2 separate regions of the Homo sapiens genome follow, and region 1 is linked to region 2. The links are contacts of gene promoters, found by promoter capture Hi-C in human tissues and cell types (Jung and others, 2019). All regions are on one chromosome and are shown on one strand. The core of a region is centred on a gene start or on the middle of the fragment in contact, and the rest is flanking DNA. Distances in the headings are between cores, read along the strand shown.

The links. The method cuts DNA at HindIII sites, captures the fragments that hold promoters and counts their contacts. A contact is called where the count stands out against the background at its distance.
Region 1: a contact is called between a fragment that was not itself captured here and the fragment with the promoter of AP1G2 in region 2, in 3 of the 25 tissues and cell types used here (dorsolateral prefrontal cortex, lymphoblastoid cells and spleen).

Annotation. Positions count from the first base shown.
Region 1 is chr14:23,448,843-23,451,542 of GRCh38, reverse strand. No RefSeq gene overlaps it. Among named protein-coding and RNA genes, the nearest start is that of MYH7, 15 kb to the right of the region's middle. The HindIII fragment of the contact is 6,568 bases long and covers 1-2,700 here.
Region 2 is chr14:23,566,409-23,569,182 of GRCh38, reverse strand. It overlaps AP1G2 (adaptor related protein complex 1 subunit gamma 2), which reads left to right and starts at 1,392. Exons shown (of 22, transcript NM_003917.5): 1 at 1,392-1,444; 2 at 1,864-2,072; 3 at 2,497-2,621; 4 at 2,764-2,774. The coding sequence starts at 1,869. JPH4 (junctophilin 4) reads left to right here. Exons shown (of 6, transcript NM_001146028.2): 6 at 1-1,145. It overlaps AP1G2-AS1 (AP1G2 antisense RNA 1), which reads right to left. Exons shown (of 4, transcript NR_110555.1): 3 at 1,761-2,774; 4 at 1,107-1,494. RefSeq lists silencers at 201-300, 1,290-1,339 and enhancers at 1,820-2,059, 2,090-2,179. The HindIII fragment of the contact is 7,450 bases long and covers 1-2,123 here.

The sequences.
Region 1 (2,700 bases), core at 118-2,617, 120 kb after region 2:
TTTTGTGTATAGTGTGGGGTGTGGTCTAAATGTATCTTTTTGCATGTGTGTATCCAGCACCATTTCCTCAAAGAATTGTTTTGGAATCTTTGTTGAAAATAAATTGATCTCCCTTCATTTTAAATTTTAACTAAATGAAAAATTCAGTGTCTCAGTTGCACTAGACACATTTCAAGTACCCAACAGCCATGTTTGGCTAGTGACTACCACACTCAGTAGTGTAGCCCTAGGGGACACAAAGATGAAAATATTACAGTTCTCAACCCCAAGGACCTCATATTCTGGTGCCATCAACTTAAGGAAACTGAAGCGGTGTAAGAATAAGCAATATGCTAACAATGAAAAGCAACAGCAGGAAAAAAAGCCACAATGATTGTAAATTAATGCTTTCAAAGAGTGGCTATATGTAAACATATTCATAATTTTTGACTAAGGAATTCGTCTCCTAGAATTTGTTCTATTGAAATCATTCAAAATAAAAAGAAGCCATGTGTACTTATGTTTAGAGATACTTTATTTATAAGTTCAAAAAAACTACAAACAGGGAGTCAGTGGGAAAGAGGAGTAACTGCTAATAGGTATGGTATTTCTTTTGGGGGTGATGAAAATGTTCTAAAATTTGATAGTGGTGATGCTTGCACAACTCTGAATATACTAAAAACTACTGAATCGTATATTGTAAAATGGTAAATGTTATGGCACATGAATTATATCTCAATAACAATGTTATTTAAAACTATAAACAATCTAAATATCAAACAAGTAAATGTTAATATTTTTACTCAGAAATAGCAAATGAATAGCTCCGTAGCTCCATTTATTGGGCATTTACTACATGCCAGGCACTATTCTGAGCACTTTACATGCATTAATTCAGTGGTTCTCAATGTGTGGTCCTCAATCCAGTAGCATCTGGTATGCAAATTCAGGCATCCCAGGCTGGAGTGCAGTGATGCAATCTCGGCTTACTGCAGTCTCCACCTCCCAGGCCCAAGTGATTCTCCTGCTTCAGGCTCCCAGGTAGCTGGGATTATAGGCATGCACCACCACACCAGCTAATTGTTTTGTATTTTTCATACAGATGGGGTTTCATCATGTTGATCAGGCTGGTCTCAAACTCCTGACCTCAAATGATCTGCCTCCCAAAGTCCTGGGATTACAAGCATGAGCCACTGCACCCAGCCAAGAAAATGTGTCCTAACAAAGCTTCTGTGTGATTCTGCAGCATGAACAAGTTTGAGAATCTCTGTATGTATTATGCCATTCTTGCATTGCTATGAAGAAGTACCTGAGACTGGGTAATTTACGAAGAAAAGAGGTTTAATTGCCTCACAGTTCTGCAGGCTTTACAGTATCTGCTCAGCTTCAGGGAAGGCCTCAAGGAACTTTTACTCATGGCAGAAGGCAAAGCAGGAGAAGGCATGTCATATGGCAAGAGCGGGAGCAAGACAGGGAGAGGGTGCCACACGCTTTTAAACAATCAGATCTTGAGAGAACACACACACTATGGTGAGGACAGCACCAAGGGGATGGAGCTAAACCATTCATGAGAAATCTACGCCCAGGACCTAAACACCTCCCACCAGTCCCCACCTCCAACACTGAGGATTACATTTCAACATGAGATTTGGGGGGACACATATTTAAACTATATCACTGTATTAAGTTATCTGACAGCAAACCCATAGGTTAGCAATATTATTATCCCCATTTATGAAATATAAGATTGTAAGAATATGAAATGCTAATTGGTGTTTTATGAGATTATGTACATATATATCTACACACAGCAGCCATACAAAAAATATGTATTATACACATATACACACCCCTTGGAAAGAACTGAACAAAGGAGAATAATGTGATTGGGTAGGAGATCTTGGGTGTCATTTTTGTAGTTGTAAAGTTTCAACAAAGTTTGTTTTGTGTGTTTCAGGGTCAGCTGTGTTGGACTGGCAAGTGCTTTCAAAGGAGAGCCACTGAGCTGTGCCTAGAAAAGCAGCCAGAAAAAGTCCCGACAAGGTCAGGGACTGAGAAAGCCCAACCTGGGGTGAGGGTGCTGTCCATAGACCAGTCAGACCTGGGGGGAGACTGTGAAGGGATAAGGTGGGGCAGTTGGGCCAGCTTATGGAGGGTCTTTAAATGCCAGCCAGAGGAGTCCAGGCTTCATCTTAAAGACAACAGGGAGCCCTGGAAGTTTCTATGAATGACAGATATGTAAGAGGTAGTGCTTTAGAAAATCAAGTCTGCTAGCCATCTGGTGAAATGAGCCTCTGGAAGACTAGTTAAGGTGCTGTTGCAATTATGCAGACGTGAAAAAGGGGCTTGCCTAGTGTTTTTCAAGAGAATGGAAAAGAAAGGAGGAGGCGGGACATTTCGAAGGTGGAATCTGCCGAATAGTATAAATGTAACTGAGTACCTTTCTCCTGGATCCCTTCCCCTTTCTCTTCTCTAGTTCCCAGTTTCTCTAGGTAGGTTTCTTCATTCTTTACCTGTGACCACAAGTCTAGAATCTCTCATGCAAATGAATCAGAAACTAAACGTTGCTTTCCCCCAAGAATCACTGGTTATGCCACCTATTCTATAAAATCAGATAGTATCATGATCTCTTTTAATACACATTAATAGCTGCTCAGTGCCTATAGATTAAAGTCCAAACTTCCTTAACTTGGTTCAGAAGGTCCTTCATGACCAGCTGAA
Region 2 (2,774 bases), core at 143-2,642:
TGTCGGGCAAGGCACTGGCTGAGCTGCTGTGGCTCCCTAGCCTAAGGGGCCTGCTGTCCCTCTGAGGCCTAGTGAAAAAGCTGCAGGAGGTGCATCCTCCACCTCTAATCTTGGAGGCTATTATCTTACCTCCAAGCACTGAGCTGGGTTACTGCCCAATTCCATCCTTCCCTGAAGGAGAGAAGGGAAGTGAAAAGTAGAGTAACTCCCCAGCATTTCCCTCTTTTTCTCCTCATCGGCCAGCCCCTCCTCCAGCCCCCTCTGGTGGCATGCCATGCCAAGAGCAACGTGTAAAGGAACAGAGAATATCCAATGCAGTCAAGTCCACCCTGCCCAGACTTTGCCACTGACTTCTCCCACCCTTCTGTCTCCCCCATAATAGTTTATTTGGTTGGTCTGGACTCACTTGTGGCCTTTGATTAAATTCCTAAGGGGCCTGAAGAAGACATTTCTACTGCAGAGGGTTAGAGGCACTTGAGCAAGGCCCCCACATCCCAACTCTGGGAGTTGTGGTGGGAGGAGGCACTTCTGGGGGATAGGACCAGACAAGATAACAGGAGCTCACATGGAAGCAGAAGCTGTGACAAGTTTAGTAGTCCCAAAATGGGTTATATCCCTTCCCCCTTTACATCAGAATCTTGTGAAATGGGAAAACAACAGAAGGAGGGGATCAAAGATAGCTGATCTCACATGCTTCCCAGGCAGGGCAGAGGTGGGAGTCAAACCCGGGTGACAGGTGGGTGGAGAGCCCTGTTTGAGGTTGTGGCTGATCCCTCTCTGGTATTAGTTTTTCCCCTGGGAGCAGGAAGCCCTAGGAAGAGGGGACTGCAGGGTCCCCAGGGGATCTTTCCTCCCTCCCCTGCATGAGGCAGAGGCAAGCTGCCTGCCAACCCCCTCCCTCAAGGAATGGCCTTGCCCAGGAATGCCCACCACACATACCCTCTTCTTTTTTTCTAGTCAAACTCTTGTTTATTCCTTGGCTTGCCTCCCTCCTTCCTCCCCTCTCAACCTTTACTTCTGATTTCTATTTCATGGAATTTGGGATTGAAGTTAAACTACAACAGTGCCGCCAACACCAAGTCTTGCAGGAAAAAAATACAAAGAAATTTAACAAAAAAAATATATTAATAAAAAAGTTCAAAAAAGGGGGGGGATTGTCATCTCCTTTGGGGTGCGATGGCTTCAAATCCAAACTGAGGCTCTCCGGGTGGTAAGGATGTGCGAGGAGGCCTCTTGAAGAACTCCAGGCCTATCATGCTGTCTCTCCGCTAAAGCCTGAGGCCCGAGGTCAGAGGATTCAGGAAGGCTCTGCAGTCGGCCCAGGAGGGCGGGGTCCCGTGGTGGAGGCGGGGAGAGGGAAGGACCGCACGGAGCACCAACCCCTGCTCGGCCCCGTACCAGGAAGCGCTGGGGGGCAGAGGAGCGGAGTTGAGGCAGAAGCCAGGTGAGGCTGGAGTCCTGGGGTAGGCAGGCTGTCGCTGCCGCTGCCGCTGCCTGAGATGGAAATCGGGGGAGGAAGCTCGCGGAAGAAACAGCGGAGGGTCGTGGAAAAAAAAGCAATGGCTGAGCTAGGGATGGGGTACCAGGTAGGGGGAGGAAACGGTAGAGAGAAATAGGTGGGGCTCCCGCGCATGCTCAATAGGAAGGGGCGCCGGTGGGGTGCGGACGCATGCGTAGTGGGCTTCTCGGGCGGTGGGGTGGGCGCGGAATTTGGAGACCCACTTCGGGAAAGGTAAAATGCGGGCGCAATTTTAGGGTACCTGTGGGACCCGGGCTCTTAGGGTCTTGACACAGGACGGGCCTGGGCCGAAAGCCCAGGCACGCCCGACCAGAGAGTGTTTCTCCACTCCCGGACTCTGCCAGTCAGGATGGTGGTGCCTTCGCTGAAGCTTCAGGACCTCATCGAAGAGATTCGCGGGGCCAAGACTCAGGCCCAGGAGCGGGAGGTGATCCAAAAGGAGTGTGCCCACATCCGGGCCTCCTTCCGCGACGGGGACCCAGTGCACAGGCACCGGCAGCTGGCCAAACTGCTCTACGTCCACATGTTGGGCTACCCCGCCCACTTTGGACAGGTACTGGCCAGGAATACCTCCCTCCTGAGCTTGATGAAGGCTAGTGGGGCAGAGTCCCAGACTCTCTCACCTGTTTATGCCCTGGTTTTTTAAATTCTACAATTTCAGAGTCTTCACAGCCTGCACTGCAAACCTCTTTCCCCATTGCTACCCCTACTGGTCATCAGCTGGCCTGAACCCTTCATTCTCTGGCCAGCCTCCTTTAGGGCAGGCATCTCCTCCTCTCCGCTCCCATCCTCCTCAACTCCTAGTTCCTCCTACCCACTAACGCCTGAATTTCCTAAGCTTCTCCTCTTGTTGAAGGGAGAGTGATGAGATATGATGCCCCACAGGTTAATCTGGTTTTAAAGAGGAAGATGGAACAGGGATGTGAGTGTCTATGGTTTCACCCCTGCCTCTTCCTGGTCTGCCCCCTTCACTATAGATGGAGTGCCTGAAACTGATCGCCTCCTCCAGATTCACAGACAAGAGGGTGGGCTACCTGGGGGCCATGCTTCTATTGGATGAGAGGCACGATGCCCACCTGCTCATTACCAACAGCATCAAGAAGTGAGAGGGTTCTGGCAATCACTTGGAATCAGGGAGATGGGAGAGTAGGGACCTTGGAAATCCCAGGGGACTGCCTGTTGTGGGTATTGAAAAGGACTGATTTTCTCAGAGGTTTGACTGACCGTCCTCCCAAACCCTGCAGTGACCTGAGCC